Linked DNA regions of Homo sapiens: regions 2 and 3 are each linked to region 1. Evidence: promoter capture Hi-C in human tissues and cell types (Jung and others, 2019). All regions are on one chromosome and are shown on one strand. Each heading gives the region's core, a stretch centred on a gene start or on the middle of the fragment in contact. The rest is flanking DNA. Distances are from core to core; before and after follow the strand shown. Region 1 holds the start of PTX3 (pentraxin 3). Region 2 overlaps VEPH1 (ventricular zone expressed PH domain containing 1). Region 3 overlaps VEPH1 (ventricular zone expressed PH domain containing 1).

Region 1 (5,007 bases), core at 1,003-3,502:
TCTCCTCTGAAGCCCTATTTAGTATTTACTGACAAGCACCCCTCAAATATTTAGGAAATATGATATGGTTTCTGTAACTTTAAATGAAACATGCTCTCATTACATAAAATTCTTTAACTTTAAATGAAACATGCTTCTTCCCCCTCCCCATCCAGCAAAAGTTGTTTTCTTGGAAATACAGGGAAGGATTCTCAGGAAAAGTGCAAGTTATATTTTCTTACCTAGGACACTGATTTTCTAATACAATCCAAAATGATTGTCACACCACCATTTCTTAGAAGTTTTGGCATACAAAGGAGTATTGATTGGCTCCAAATCTTCTATTTCTTTCTTTTAACCATCTTTAGAATGTATTATTTTGGGAACCCATGTCTGTTTGGAGATTCATGGAGTGTCACATGGGACTTTGAGAAGTTGCCTGTGGTTTGAACAGTCTCTCTCCTGCTTGGCCCCAATTCTCTGAATCCCTGGGGTGGAGCTGGGATCCCCTACACGGATTGGCTCCTACACCTGACTGTTCCACGCTGAATCCCAAACCGCACACCCTCCGACCTCCCCTGTCGCGCTAATTCCACAAACCCCGGGGGCTGGGGGACCCCTGAAGAATTCCGCTGACCCTTCGGGAGATTAGCTTTAGCCTCAAGTTTCTTGCTGAGAATGGGTGGGCGGAGAGGAGGGGCCGGCTGAGGGGCTGGAAAACATCCCTAAACGTTAGCCTGGGCCCTGAAATAGTGCGGGAAACCAGAGCTCCTCTAAAGACAGAGGCAGGATAAAATTAGAAGACGTGGAAATCCCTAACGGAGGGAAGCTGGGCGGCAAGAGGGATCACGGTTATAACGGGCCAGTGGACTCCTGCAGCGCTTAGTCGGATCGGGTGTAAGGGGCCCTAGACGTCTATTTCAAGACTGTGATGGTTACCTCCACAACTCTCTTTAGGGCTCCTTAGGACTGAGGAATACTTTTTTAAAGCCAATTTTCCCGCCTTGTATGGTGTGCCTGAGCTCTGTGACCGCGCATGCAGAAATAGGGGTGTGTGTGTGTGTGTGTGTGTGTGTGTGTGTGTGCGCGCGCGCGCGCGCGCTTCCCATGAAAGCTTCCCCTAGAAGGTTGCCTGGCTTGGCTTGCCGTTACGCGCGCTCCCGGAACAAAGCCGCAGTGGGAGGTCCCGGCCCCGCTTGCCTCCTTACCTGCCGGCAGCCAGCTCCGGGCAGCCCAGCCCTGCACCGCGTGCAGGTCGGCTCGCGTCTGCCGCAGCTCCTCTAGCACCGCGGCCAGGGCGCGCCCCGCCTCCTCTGGGCGCTGCGCCTCCGCGCCCTCCATACGCGCCAGCCTGCGGCCCGCGTCGCGGGTCGCCTGCAGCAGCTCGTCCAGAGCACTGGTCAGCCTGGCCTCTGCGGGAGCCCCCGGCGCGCACGGCCTCGCCAGGCTTTCCGCGAGCCGGCCCAGCTCCTCCCGCAGCCTCTGCAGCTCGCCCCGCAGGACGTCGTCCGTGGCTTGCAGCAGCATGCGCTCTCTCATCTGCGAGTTCTCCAGCATGATGAAGAGCTTGTCCCATTCCGAGTGCTCCTGACCGCAGGCGCACGGCGTGGCTAGAGTACGGGATACACACACGTTAGCAGCCCGCCCAGGCCTGCCTTGGATGTGCTTTGTAAAAGCTGACCTCCCTCGGTGGTGCCAAGTTGCAGCCCGTTCCTGGCATTCCCCTTCCCTTTAAGGACACCTCCGAAAAACAGCATGTAAATGTCTCAGAAACGACAGAAATCATTCATTCAGGTATAGATTAAGTTGTACCCTATGAAATCGCCGGTTATGTAGCTCAAAACAGTCAAATATTGACGATTTGATATGATTCAACCCATTATGTACGTTACAGAAATAACTTTGAAACCTCCATCTTTCTTCAAGTGCTTCTCACTTTTGCATAACAAGCTATAAATTTTTAACTTGTCTCACTGGCCACAAAGTATATGTGTGTTATTTAGACCAAGAGGTGGATATGTAGTCAGGGTTAGCAGAGAAACAGTTAAAGTGAACTTACGGTCCTCAGTGGGATGGAGTCCATTGTCTATTTCGTTGTCCAAATTCACATACATGAGATCATAATCATCCGAGTTCTCGGCCAACACTGCAGACCAGAGAGCACAAAACAGAATCGCAAGGAGATGCATTGCTGGAGAGACGCAAAGTTCTTTCCACAGCTGGCGGGAGGAGACTCTCAAGTGAGCTGAGTTTGAGCGGAGGAGAGTGAGAGTGAGAGGCTGGAGCAGAGAGTCCTTAATAAATGCTGAGGAAAGCCTGAATGGGGATGAATGAGTAATGCTGGTGGCACTGCGGTAACGGGAGTTCCCCTGAATTTGGTGGGGGAGGGGGCTGGGTGGGAGAGCGAGGGAAATGTGGAAGTTGCACAATATTAAACCGCAAAGGTTTACGCTGCAGTCAGATTAATTGGAGGAGGGTCAGAGGGGAAAGAGGAGAGAAACTGGGCTTCTACTGTTCTCCTGAGAATTAGCTGTTGTAATTTGAATTGATAGCAATGGGGATGAAGGAGGGGTGGTAGGGGAGAAATTTCAGAGGGTACTGAAGCAAATCATCATTTCAGCATTTTCTGTGAGCTGTTATTATTTCACAACCCTTTATATATAGAAAACTTTCCATGTTTCCTTTGTACACTGTTTTACAGGTTGAAACTGAAAATGGTCTGATTCCAAGATAAACCAACATATTAAGAATAGTTATGGCTCTGAAAGTCAAGTCCAATCCGAGCTATCTTGTCTTTAATACTTGAGGAGTTGCACCTATACTTTTATAGATAATTTTTTTTTTTGAGACTGAATTTCGCTCTTGTTGCCCAGGCTGGAGTGCAATGGTGTGATCTCGGCTCACTGCAACCTCCGCATCCTGGGTTCAAGCGATTCTCCTACCTCAGCTTCCCAAGTAGCTGGAATTACAGGCACCCGCCACCACACCCAGTTAATTTTTGTATTTTTAGTAGAGACAGGGTTTCACCATGTTAGCCAGGCTGGTCTCGAACTCCTGACCTCAGGCGATCCACCCGCCTTCGCCTCCCAAATTGCTAGGATTACAGACGTGAGCCACCTCACCCGGCCTATGACAAACAACACAGTACAACTGGGTAAACCTAGAATGGGGAAAAAAAGCTGGGGGAAAAAAGGAATATACTTATTTAGTTATTTAGGTATGTTTCTTTTCATAACTTGGTATTATGTGGACATTATATTATTCTACAAGGTTTCGAGGCAAGGATCATGTTTTAAAAGTAAACTTAGAGATTTCTGCTTCTAACAATATATACAGGTCTGTGTTCACATGATATTAATAAAAACTTAAAAGGTACAGATGAGCTCCCATTAAAGTAAGGGGAAAATCCCGGAGCCAAAGATAGAGAGGAAAGCAAAAACAACAATCCCATGAGCTGATGCTAGGGCCCCTCTGGCATAGGAGTGAAGTGAGATAGGGGTTATTAGTTCTATAACCACCAAATGTTGATGACCATGTGGAAGCAAAGCTTAGGCCAAAGGTGGAGAGTTAGAAGGGAGATCCTCATGAAAGCCAGGACCCTCACAGGGTTACCTACTGTATTTCAGTAGGTACAATCCCACTCTGCCCTAGCACAAAGAGGTAGGAAGCAATCATGTCTCTCTTTGAACTCTACAAGGTCCCTTTGAGTTTGTGAAATTGGGCCTGCCCTCAGATATGTTTAGAATTCAAATATATACTATCTGCCACTGTGAAAACAAAAAAGAATTCACAATGATATTTGAACATATGAGGAAGCAAACCACTATAAATGAGAATCAGCAGAAACCAAAAAGGATTAGACACCTCTCCCCAAGAACTGCATTTAGTTGAAATATCAGCCAAAAAACTAGAAAATAAATATGTTTAAAACTACTGAAGCTCTAAAAGAAGGAATTGGAAATATGAGAAAAGAATAAGACATTGTCAAAAAGAAAAAGGCTAGGTGATTTTTTTTAAAGAACCAAATAAAACTTCTAGAATTAAAAAAAAAAGTTAATTGAAAATTTTAAAAGCTCAAGGCATGGATTAAGTGGCAAATTAGGCAAAGCTGAAAAGAATATTAATGAACTGGAAGACAGATATAAGGAAATAATCTAAAATGTGCTGCTTTTATGTTCAGTAATAGGATTCTAAAATCATTTCATTGTTCAGGAGGACGAAAAAGAAATTAATTAATTTTGCTTTGCTCAAAAATATTTGTTATAAGTTTAAGGACAACTACCAAATGGACATAGGCATCCGAATAGAAGGTGCAGGGGGAATTTTTAAAGAAAGACTTGATCTATGAAAAAAAAATTAATGAAGGAGGAAAGAAAAGCACAGAGAAGGATAAGTTAAAAGTACAATATTATTTGCTAAAATTAAATCAAAATATACCAATAATTACCATAAATATTAATGAAACACATTTTCCAGTTAAGAGACAAATATTTCTATTTGTCATATAGAAATATTTTAGTCGGGGCTCACGTTCAGAATCCCAGTACTTTGGGAGGCCAAAGTAGGAGGATCACTTGAAGCCAGGAGTTTGAGACCAGCCTGATCAACATAGCAAGACCCTCATCTGCACAAAAAATTTAAAAATTAATCTGGTGTGGTGATATGCACCTGTAGTCTCAGCTACTCAGGAGGCTGAGGCAGGAGGATCACTTGAGCCTGGGAAGTGGAGGCTGCAGTGAGCTGTGATCACACCACTGCGTTCCAGCCTGGGCGACAGAAAGAGACCCTGAAAAAAAGAAAAGGAGAGAGAGAGAGAAGAAATATTTTAAAAATCCAGCTATACATCACTTACAAAAGCTATGCATAAAACATAAAGTAGAAATGTTAAAAGTTAAAAGCTTTAAATTGGAGGGGAGGAAGAGAACACACCAAGCAAGTATTATTCAAAAAAGCTAGCATAGCAGTAGTAATATCAGTAAAAAATAGACTTAGGCAAAAGAGGATAGTTAAATTATGATACAAAGAAAT
Region 2 (5,007 bases), core at 1,801-4,300, 100 kb after region 1:
ACAAGTTTAAAATACAGAAAAATGTTTATATTATGTCTTACAATATTATTCACTGTTAATCAAATTACGTTCTAGAGCAGAGGCTGGCAAACTTCCCATATAAAAGTCCAAGTAGTAAATATTTTTGGACAGTTTGTGTGGTCTCTGTTGAAGCTGCTCAATTCTGCCATTGTAGTAGGAAAACAACTATAGATAATTCATAAATGGATGGCTATGACTGTGTTCCAATAAAACTTTGTTTAAACAAGCAAGCAGTGAGTCAGACTTTGCCCATGGACAGTAGTTTATCAACCCTTGCTCTAGATTATATTTTTCCACATTCACCTGGAGTTTTGTGTTAGATGGAGTGTAGGGGTTTCTGATCCTCCATGCGAGACTTCTGGTAAACATAGCTGATTGAACATGTTTATCTCTACTAGCAATAAAACCCCACTTAAATGATAATAAAGGAAATAAAAGGTATACGCTTAGGGGAATGGAGAAGAAGACAGCAGACAGAGATGAATCAACACAATGTTGGGCAGAGTGAAGCAGATGCAAGAGTGTTCACTGAACTAGCGGTAAGCAGTGCCCAGGTAATACCATTGTGGTCCAAGAGAGGTGCCATATAGGAAGCATTTTATCCAGTTCTGCTGAGGTCTTCTAAGCATCATTGGAGGGGCAGCAAATGGTTCCTCAGTAATGCTAGGTTATAATCTGATGCAGTCACTGTCTGAGTTGGCACCCTTAGCTCATCTGTAAAACTCAAAGTAATTGGTTTTGGGGGAAAGGGGCCCTAACTCTAACTGTAAATATATTGGTATTCAGACGACTTAGACAAGAATAGTGCCAACAATAACTAGCAGTTTAACATTCACTGCTTTTACTGCTATTAAGCTATTCTGAAACCCTTTCCCTCTAGCCTGCTTTCTAAGACCCAAAGGAAATATTCGCAGTATTTTCAGTCACTCTTAGTACTCATTGATGAGGAGCTATCATGTAAGGAAGGAGTAGAAAATGAGAAGACAAGAAATGCCAGAAGGAGGATTCTACGATGCTGATTTGCATGTCAGGGTCTCGGTCCAGGAAGGAAACAGCAGGCAGAGGGAGGCTGGTAGCCATGGTGCCTAGTGGGCTATGTAGTGACTCACTCCACCGCCCTGCATGAGTCCAGCAAACAAAGGCAGTGTGTTAGGAAATGGTGTGCTTGATTGTAACAGATGCAAACTTCAAGGGTCACTGGAGTCACATATAAGAGGCTTCACTAACTCGGAGCCAATAACTCCCATCTTTTTCCCAGCAGAATATTTGGAGAATTGATGAGAAAAAAAAAGTACGCATAGTTGACTGATTTCTTTTTTGTAGAGATGGACACTTTTTGTACTCTATTCCTTCTTCTGTCCCACACTAGACACTATTTATATTCAGATCCTATATGCTGTATTCAAAGGGGAAAACATTTGGTCTTCTTGGGTTTTTACTACCACTATTCCATGATTGTCTTTCCTTTGATTTGACTACCTTTCTTCATAATAAATCTTCCTGTCTTCTCCCTCTCTTTGTTGTTCTCCTTTCCTGTCTCAGTTTTCTGTATTTGCATTTCCTTATCCCATGCACATTCCTTTCCTTCTTGTGGGGAGTTGTTTTTTGTTCTTTGTTTTTGAGATAGGGCCTCCTTGTTGCCCAGGCTGGAGTGCAGTGATGCAAACACGGCTCACTGAAGCCCCAACCCTCAGGCTCAAGCCATCCTCCCACCGCAGCCCCCAAAGTAGCTGGAACTACAAGCACAGGCCACTACACCCAGCATTTTTTTTTTTTTCATAGAGATGTGGTCCTACTATGTTGCCCAGTGGTCTACTGTATTTGAGAATGTCAAAGAAAAAAACACCTCCCAATTTCCCAGTGCCAACACACTTTGGGCTTTTTGACAGCAGCTTTTTGGAGATAATTTCATTGACTCTGAGCATTATAATATTGATGAAGGTGATAGATAATTTTAAAAAGGTGAACAAATTATTTTATTTAATCCTGGTGACAAGTCTGTAGTGTAGTTAGCACTGTCCTCATTTTATGAATGAGAAAATAGAAAGGCGAATAACCTGTCCAAGGTAATATGGCCAGTAGAAGGCAGAATCAGGACTTGGCCCTGGCTCTATGATCTTGCCACTGCTTCTTTATCCCACACTGCCTTCTCGGACATGCCATTCTCATCCCCACCTCCATGCCTTTACCCAAACTCTTGCTCCTCTAGGTGCCCGCTATTTTATTTATCTAGGCCTAGCATTCATCAGGGCTAGCCTATTTCTTACTTTCTACACCCCCGTGATTCCCAGTACTTCTCATTTGGCACTTGATCATGGATTGCTCTTTTTAAATATTCATATACTTCTGACATCTCTTTTTTAAGCTGTAAAACTCTGAATCTTTTTATAGTTTTAACACTCAGCCCAATGTCTCATCCTTGGTAAGTCCTCAGAGTATTTGTTAATGATGGTGATGCTGGTAGACATTTCCCCAGTGCAGGATAACAAATGAAATCAACCTTCCTCAAGCTTAATGGCTGTTCATGTTGTTACAGCAGCTGCATTAATGACAAGTAATCTGTAACATTTTTCAGAACTTGTACTCTAAGAGTACAATTAGCCACATGAAAATGCCTTCCTCAGAGGCTTCCAGTCTTACCTGTAGCCTGAAGAACTGAATTTCCTTAAGACTAGAATTATTTTCTAAAATTGGCTTTCAAATTCATGGTATATCCCGAGAATTGGCTGCACAAAATTAGTTGCTTTCTATTCAGTAACACCTCATTTAGCAGCAGTGACTGAAATAAAATGCCCCCTAACTTTCTCATGTCAGCCACATGATCATGAAGTCAACAGGGAATAGACGGTTGGCATCTTAGGAAAGTCAGGCTTAGTTAGTAGTTGCTAAAGGCCACTTCTAACAGGAGCGTCAATGAGTTTGATACACACTACGTGGAGTTGATATACACTATGTGGAGGTCCTATATACCCTGCACCAACATATCGGACATAATAAACCTCCTGGTAAATACATATAACTCTCCCATGAGTGTTCTTCTGATGCCTGATGGTGGCCAGCCCAGAAGGTCTTAGTTCAGAACTGCCAACCAGAGAGAGCAATGCAATGGGTGACTCACATATACATGATCTTAGGCTTATCCTTCCTTCCTCTGGGGAAAAAAAAATGTAAACGGACCCATTTTAGTGGAGTTTATTAATAGAATTTCCTAAAATTTTCTGTGCCCTATATCTGGTTACTGTTATGCATTTTGCAGAGTTGCAAAGTAATTGGTAGCACATGGAATGGTACCTGCAGGGGATCACGGCTTGCCTGCCTTATTTGCCTCTGTACAACTTTTGATAAATCTGTGCTTGGAAGAGCCAAGTGTTTATTTCTACCATATGGGCTTCCACTGACTCAGTGTGACCACAAAGTGGCTCTGTATTGTTGCCAGAAATCAACTACATTAGTGTCATGCAAATATATAGAGAGGTATGTGTGTGTATTTGATTTAAAATTCATGTAAATTCCAAAATTACTTTCATGTCTAGAAACTGTGCTAACTCCTCTGAAAATATCCCAGATTCCTTTCTGATCATGTTGACATTGACTACTTTGTATTCTTAATGTTTGGACATCTAACTTGTATTTGGCAACCATCAAGAGTACCTGGTAGGAAAAAGTTGAGGTCTTCCGAGTGAACTTCCCCTGGCGGATTTTGTGATCGGATAAGCACTGCAAAACATTCCTCATCCCAGAACTGAGTGACACTCATCACTTATTGGAAGGTGCATTCTTCCTAGGGAATACCAAAAATTCACTGGAGAACTAAAAGTATCAATATAGTCATTTAAAGATAAGTTCAATTTTCAGTTAGTTTCATAATTTATATTTTTCATTATTCCTACTTTGGGAAGTATTACTGGCCAAATTCCTGGAAATATCAGAAACAACATTGAAATCAATCCAAAAATATGAACAGCATTGCCACAATAACACTTTTCTGTAATTGTAAGCAGTCAGCCACCCAATCAGAAATGATCCTGATTTGAGTATTGTTTGTAAGCACTGCTCCTCATCTGTGTGTACAATCAGGTGACTGGAAAAGTGATGGCAAATGTCACTCTTCAGATTCACCTCCTTCATAATTAATATGACAGTTTTATTTTTAAGTTTGGACATTGTAAGAATAAGGAAATAATTATTTTAAAATATATGACCATTCCTTACAAGTTGAACACAGAATTGCCATGCCACCCAACAATTCCACTCTTAGGAATATACTCCAAAGAATTGAAAACAAGTGTTCAAACCAAAACATGTACTTGAATGTTCATAGCTGCACTATTCACAATGACCAAAAGGTAGAAACAACTCAATTGTCCATGAATGAATGAGGAGGCAAATGAAATGTAGTATATTCATATGATGGAATGTTATTTAGCCATGCAAAAAAAATGAAATACTGATGCATGCTACAACATGGATGAACCTTGAAAACATCATAATAAGTGAAAGAAGCCAGACACAGAAGGCCACTCATTATATGATTCCATTTATATAAAATATCCAGAATAGGCAAATCTATAGAGACAAAATGCAGATTTTTGGTTGCCAAGAGCTAGGAGGAGGGGAAATGAAGAATAATTGCTTAACAGATGTGGGGGTTCCATTTAGGGTGATGGAAAAGTTCTAGAACTAGATAGTGGTGATAGGTGTACAACATCATAAATGTACTTACTGCCACTGAACTGTACACTTTAAAATGGTCAAAATGGTAAATTTTATGTTACATGTATTTTACTGCAATAAGAATTTGTTTTAAATATATGACTACATATTCTGTGATAAACTCCATACTTAATATGCAGCATATCCTCCACAAATAAACACATACAATTAGTGTAATTATGGAATGGTCTGGGTTAACCCTTCTATGCCAGCAGTAGCCGCAAGCACCATGTACTGGGCAGTATTTTAAATGTTTTATTTGACCCTGTAAGG
Region 3 (5,007 bases), core at 953-3,452, 64 kb after region 1:
TGGCATTCAGAACCAAGACTCCAGTTTGGTACTACTTCTCCATGAGGCCTTTTCCACCCACCATCACACATAGTGATCTGTGCTTTCCTCTGAGCTCCCACAGTTCATACAACCTTTCCACCTCCCAGCACATGCCATCCTGGCCTGGAGTATTAGGTGTCCTTCTGTGTCCCTCTACTCTTCCACAGACTTGAAGAGCTAGTATTCACAGCCCATGCTCTATGGAAGGAAAAATAAGGTCTTAAAGTGTTCACAAGAACTTCCACATTTTTAGGTAAGACATGTTCGTACAAAGAGAAATTAATTCTTTGAAAGCAGCTGTTGGTTCAGGGAAGGTACACGAGTCAGTTCAGAACCATAATTAAAAACATGGGACATTCTGGTCAGCATTGCCCCCTGCTTAGGAAAAGCTGACTATAATTTTGCCCCACCAAGGTAAATTTTAAGAATGAAACAAGAGTTTTGATAGGAAACGAGTATCTCTTTTCAATCTAGAGAGGTCTATGGTGATCACTTGTGTAAAAAGAAAATCATAACAGCCATTTGTGGCAGTAGCTGTGGCTGTTGTTACTCCTCTGTGCATGGAAAAGGAAGGAAAGGCTTCGGTTTTGGGCCCGTCTTCTTACTGAAGAGGTTAAGTCTGACATGTGGTACCATTTATGTTCCAGCTGTTATTCATTTACTCCACCAGTTGTCCTCCCTTAACGCAGCATTTAGGGTGATGTGAAGGTCTTTAAAGGCATTTCAGGAATTCATCTATCAGCACGAGATGTAGGTAGGAGACATTGTTATCAGCTTTGGAGACAATGAAGCAGGCCCAGGGAGTGTGAGACCTCAGACAGGCTGGCTCTGCCATGTAAGGACACAGTAGGGTAGAGACTCGGGCAGCCCCAGTATGGAGTGCGGGCAATGTAATATCAGCTTCATGGGGAACCAGGTCCATTTTCTGTAACATAGCAATGTTCAAAACACAGGGCACACAAAAAAAGAAAGCTTTTCATGAGGCACCCATGCGCTGGCTTCCCATTTCAAGCAAGACAGAGAACACCAAAGTTCTAGCCTAGGGAATGAGGAAAAAGGGTGTTTGTGGGAGAAGAGGTAAGAGGACCTTGACCCTCTACAACCCACGTGAGAGGAGGGCCAGGGTGCCAGCTGGTGCTCAGACACTTCTTCCTGGACCCTGATGACCTAGCTATTCACTATTTTGGTTCCCCAAATGCTCCCTATTCCTTTTTAGTATCTGTCATAATTGAACTTTAAAGTTGCCATTTGCATGACATTTTCTGAGTTTTGAACACCTTTTTAGTTTGTGTTAAAAGAGGGTGCCAAAATTCATTTTTCCAATTAATACAAAGGGTTGCTCCCGTGACTATATATCAACTCTATTCTGGTGTCTGATTCCCACAGGATGTTATTCAGAGATATCAGATTGTAATAACTCTTCTTGGTTACCGTGCTATATCACCAGTGCCCTAATATGTATTACTTATTCCTGGGGTAGATTCAGATGTAACCTGAATCACACCTACTTAGAGGAAGTGTGCAGAGTGGAGTGTTAAGTGAGAGCTCTGGAGGCAAACAGTTGGATTTAATGTTGGTTTAGCTAAGTGACCTTAAGTGTGCCTCAGTTTCCTCATCTGTAAATGGAGTTACTAATAGGGTCAGCCTCCCTTGATTGTGTGAGAAGCAATTCATGTACCAGATTTAGAACAGTGAAGACTATACATAGAAAGCCCTCTGTAAATGTTAATGAGTAGCATTAGCACTTTGTTACAGGTGTGCATTATAATAGGTGTTGGCATATCCACTAGACCAGTGCCCATCTGCAAACTGTTTCTTATCAGACTGTGATGAAGCGATTGCAGATATTAAAAATAAGAAAATAAGAAGTTAGAACTTTTATAGCAATTTAACATTGCTGTAATATCCAAGTACCTGATCAGTGGACGTTGTATGTCTTGTTTTATTCATTGCGTTTCTCTAGTAGTTTATTTTTGCTATTTTTACAAAAATATTGGTCTGTGACATGAAAATTTAAAAAAAAAATAGTTCTTTACTACAGTGAGTTTAAAAGCTACCGTATTAAATGTTGGATACAGCTGGACCCAGACTAAGTCTGAGAGCTCTCTTTAATACCTAATATTTTATTCCCTAAACTTTCTTCTGGGACCTAAAGGAAAGAGATTTAATAAATGAAAGGTGATGAACACACACCAGTGTGGCCATGGTTGAGATACAGCTACTCTAAGATGGGTTACAGTTGAGGAAAAATGGTTCTTAATATTATTCATATTCATCATAAAGCAAAAGATAGGCTTTTCATTAGTTGGCAGCCTGAAGGCTGTTAGATAAACTTTGCTATAGGTAAGGGCTGAATTCTAGGTAGACTAGGAATTGAATCACAGAATTTTATGTAGGAGTTCTATCCCCAGGTCAGTTATTGATGTGTTTTTGATTAAGTATATCCTCCATTTCTGGGTAACTATGTTTCTATCAATTAAAATTGGGTTACAGTATCATATTTGAGATGAAGACTATGAGAAGATGTATCAAATAGGAAAATTTTAACCATTTTTCCTGCTCTTCCAGTGTCAAATGCCAAGAGTGACAATGTCTTAGCTCTTTAATCCTCATGGCCAGACCCTATTGCTTGCTCCTGTGCCCAGACGATAAAGTCAGCCTAGACAAAGAAGAGCACATTGCCTTACAGGTCTCCCTCTTGATTGACAGTGCTTTGATGATATTCCTACTCTACGTTTTTTACAGTCCTTTATAATTTACAGAGTGATTTTGTAACTTGTGTTATATCTGGGTGGCAGTTCATTAGGATGGGGCGGCCGTCTTCTGTTAAGGCTACTGCTCACCTGATATGCCCAGTCGTCTCAGGAATCTAAAGATTCGGGGTCCATCTGAACCAGTATCTGCCAGCAGCAAAACCCGAAAATGTACCTTTACCTCGGAATGTATCCCCAAAAGGATAAAAGGCAAAGCCTACCAACTCCAAATAATCCACAGATTAAGTCTTACCTTACTACAGAATTAGTGAAACCCTCAGCAGCCTTGCTTGAGGAAAAAGGCCTCTGCCCTGGTCCACTTCAGATTCTCTTATTTCATTGTCTGGGCCATCGCTTCTCAAAATTTGAACGTGTCACTGGACACCTGGGGACCGTATTAAAGTGCACATTCTGATTCAGTAGATCTGGGATCAGAACCTGAGATTCTGCACTTCTGACAAGCTCCAAGGTGATGCTGATGCCGCTGGTCCAGGGATCTCACTTTGAGTAGGAAAAGCAGGGGCTTTGCACTTTTTGCTGATCCCTTTTCCGTGTCTTATTCTCTCCCATGTTGGTTAAATAACTGAAAAGTGAGCAAATGATTGGGCATCTGAATTAGAAGTGTCCCTTCCTTGTATCATGGCTTTTATATTTTCATTCTAATTTCAGGAAATTCTGTCTGCAGTTGCTCAGAATTCATATTTCAAGTACAGGGATTTATTTTTAATTGGCCATTTCTATATCCCAGTTCTTGTATGCTCATGGAGTAGGAGAGTCCCTCTCTTTTAGTACGCACTGTTTAAGATACTGCAGTAAGAGGAGGGATTTTATAGTCCTCCCTGGCTTTGAGCAGGAAAAGCATATCTTCTAGGATTGGTAACACTTGCGCAAACCTCCTTCTTTCAGTGTCAAATGTCCACATTAAGCAGCAGCCACTCAGGGTTTTACCATGCCTTGAATTTTTCATGCCCATTCTATGTGAGCAACACTGTCAAATCCAGTATCTTATACAATGCTTTCAGCAATCTGATGATGTAATATCAATCCCATTTTTATATAACAAAAATAAAACTTAGAGTCCTTAAGAGTTTTATAGCATCACTAATAAACATGAAATTGGAGTTATGAACCTAAGCTTTTCCCCATAAGATTCTGTTCAGTCAGTTTCCCCCACAACTGTCTCCTTTTGAAAACTCTTTTAAAATTTTGTGTAAATGAAGTAAACCATGGAGTTATTTCATTTTAGCAGAGTTCTACCATTGGCATGATCACATTCTGATCCCCACATAACTAGGTACCTGCCCATCTCTGCTTTTGCCCACTGAGCAGGTCAGAGGCAGAATAGATACCAAGAACTGAGTCTTATTGTTGTCCTTTCCCTTAACATTCCAGCTTAGGTGTTCCAGCAGCATTATTTATTGCAGTCCCAAAACAGATGCTAGCACTGTGAAGTTGGGGGATCTTCTCTATGATGACTGATGACCCAAGAGATTACTGAAGAGTAAGGAACGTAGCATTCTAAGAATTCAGGACTCCAATGTGGATTTAGTCCATTGCATTCTCCTACTTCTCCTTTAACAAGCTTAACTCTGCAGGAGTACATATCCTGGACATGGAATTGTAGGCCAAGATCATCAAACATTAACTAATATTATTTTTCTTTGATTTAAGGAGCCAGGAAGAGAGGCTGCCAATCTTTCCACCCCCTGCCAGCTTTATAGTCTCATCTCCCCGCTTAGTGAGAGCAGCGAGCAGCCCAAGGGCCAATTTGTTTCTAAGGGAAGTCCCCGTTCACACAAGAGGGAGGTAATTAGGCCTCCCCCTGGGAATCCCTAGATGTACTTTTAAAAACTTTGCTTTGGCAACAGAGACCAGAAACTGTTCAGACTAGAAATTATCTGAACCTCTTGTAATGTGGTGTGTTGAGTTAAGGCCAAGTTAATATTTAGGGGATTATAGAACTCTGGCAAAGATTTCTGTAAAATTACCTCTGGGGTCAAAAGTGACAAATGGAAAAGAAATAACAACCCCCTAAGTGAGCCCAATCCACTGGCCCCTGCCCCCACCACTCTATGAGTAAACACATACAGGACCCATGGATCTGCCAGCACTTTCACATTTGTGATGTGTTTCCTTGCTCTAGGAGGGAAGCAGAAGTTTATCTCAGGAAAAGATCTTGGTTTTTGAACTTTTTGTTCAAAAACTTTGTTTCGAACAAAATACTTCTATCTTT

The links. The method cuts DNA at HindIII sites, captures the fragments that hold promoters and counts their contacts. A contact is called where the count stands out against the background at its distance.
Region 2: a fragment that was not itself captured here is called in contact with the fragment with the promoter of PTX3 in region 1 in 3 of the 25 tissues and cell types used here (H1 embryonic stem cells, IMR-90 fibroblasts and hippocampus).
Region 3: a fragment that was not itself captured here is called in contact with the fragment with the promoter of PTX3 in region 1 in 6 of the 25 tissues and cell types used here (H1 embryonic stem cells, IMR-90 fibroblasts, bladder and 3 more).

Annotation. Positions count from the first base shown.
Region 1 is chr3:157,434,095-157,439,101 of GRCh38, reverse strand. It overlaps PTX3 (pentraxin 3), which reads right to left and starts at 2,252. Exons shown (of 3, transcript NM_002852.4): 1 at 2,039-2,252; 2 at 1,188-1,589. The coding sequence starts at 2,168. The region is part of intron 4 of VEPH1 (ventricular zone expressed PH domain containing 1); the gene reads left to right. The HindIII fragment of the contact is 4,814 bases long and covers 1-4,202 here.
Region 2 is chr3:157,332,029-157,337,035 of GRCh38, reverse strand. All of the region lies in intron 9 of VEPH1 (ventricular zone expressed PH domain containing 1), which reads left to right. LOC101928236 (a long non-coding RNA gene) reads right to left here. Exons shown (of 10, transcript XR_007096141.1): 7 at 3,673-5,007. Among named protein-coding and RNA genes, the nearest start is that of PTX3, 100 kb to the left of the region's middle. The HindIII fragment of the contact is 7,357 bases long and covers 1-5,007 here.
Region 3 is chr3:157,369,753-157,374,759 of GRCh38, reverse strand. All of the region lies in intron 7 of VEPH1 (ventricular zone expressed PH domain containing 1), which reads left to right. It overlaps LOC101928236 (a long non-coding RNA gene), which reads right to left. Exons shown (of 10, transcript XR_007096141.1): 8 at 3,028-3,357. Among named protein-coding and RNA genes, the nearest start is that of PTX3, 65 kb to the left of the region's middle. The HindIII fragment of the contact is 3,862 bases long and covers 272-4,133 here.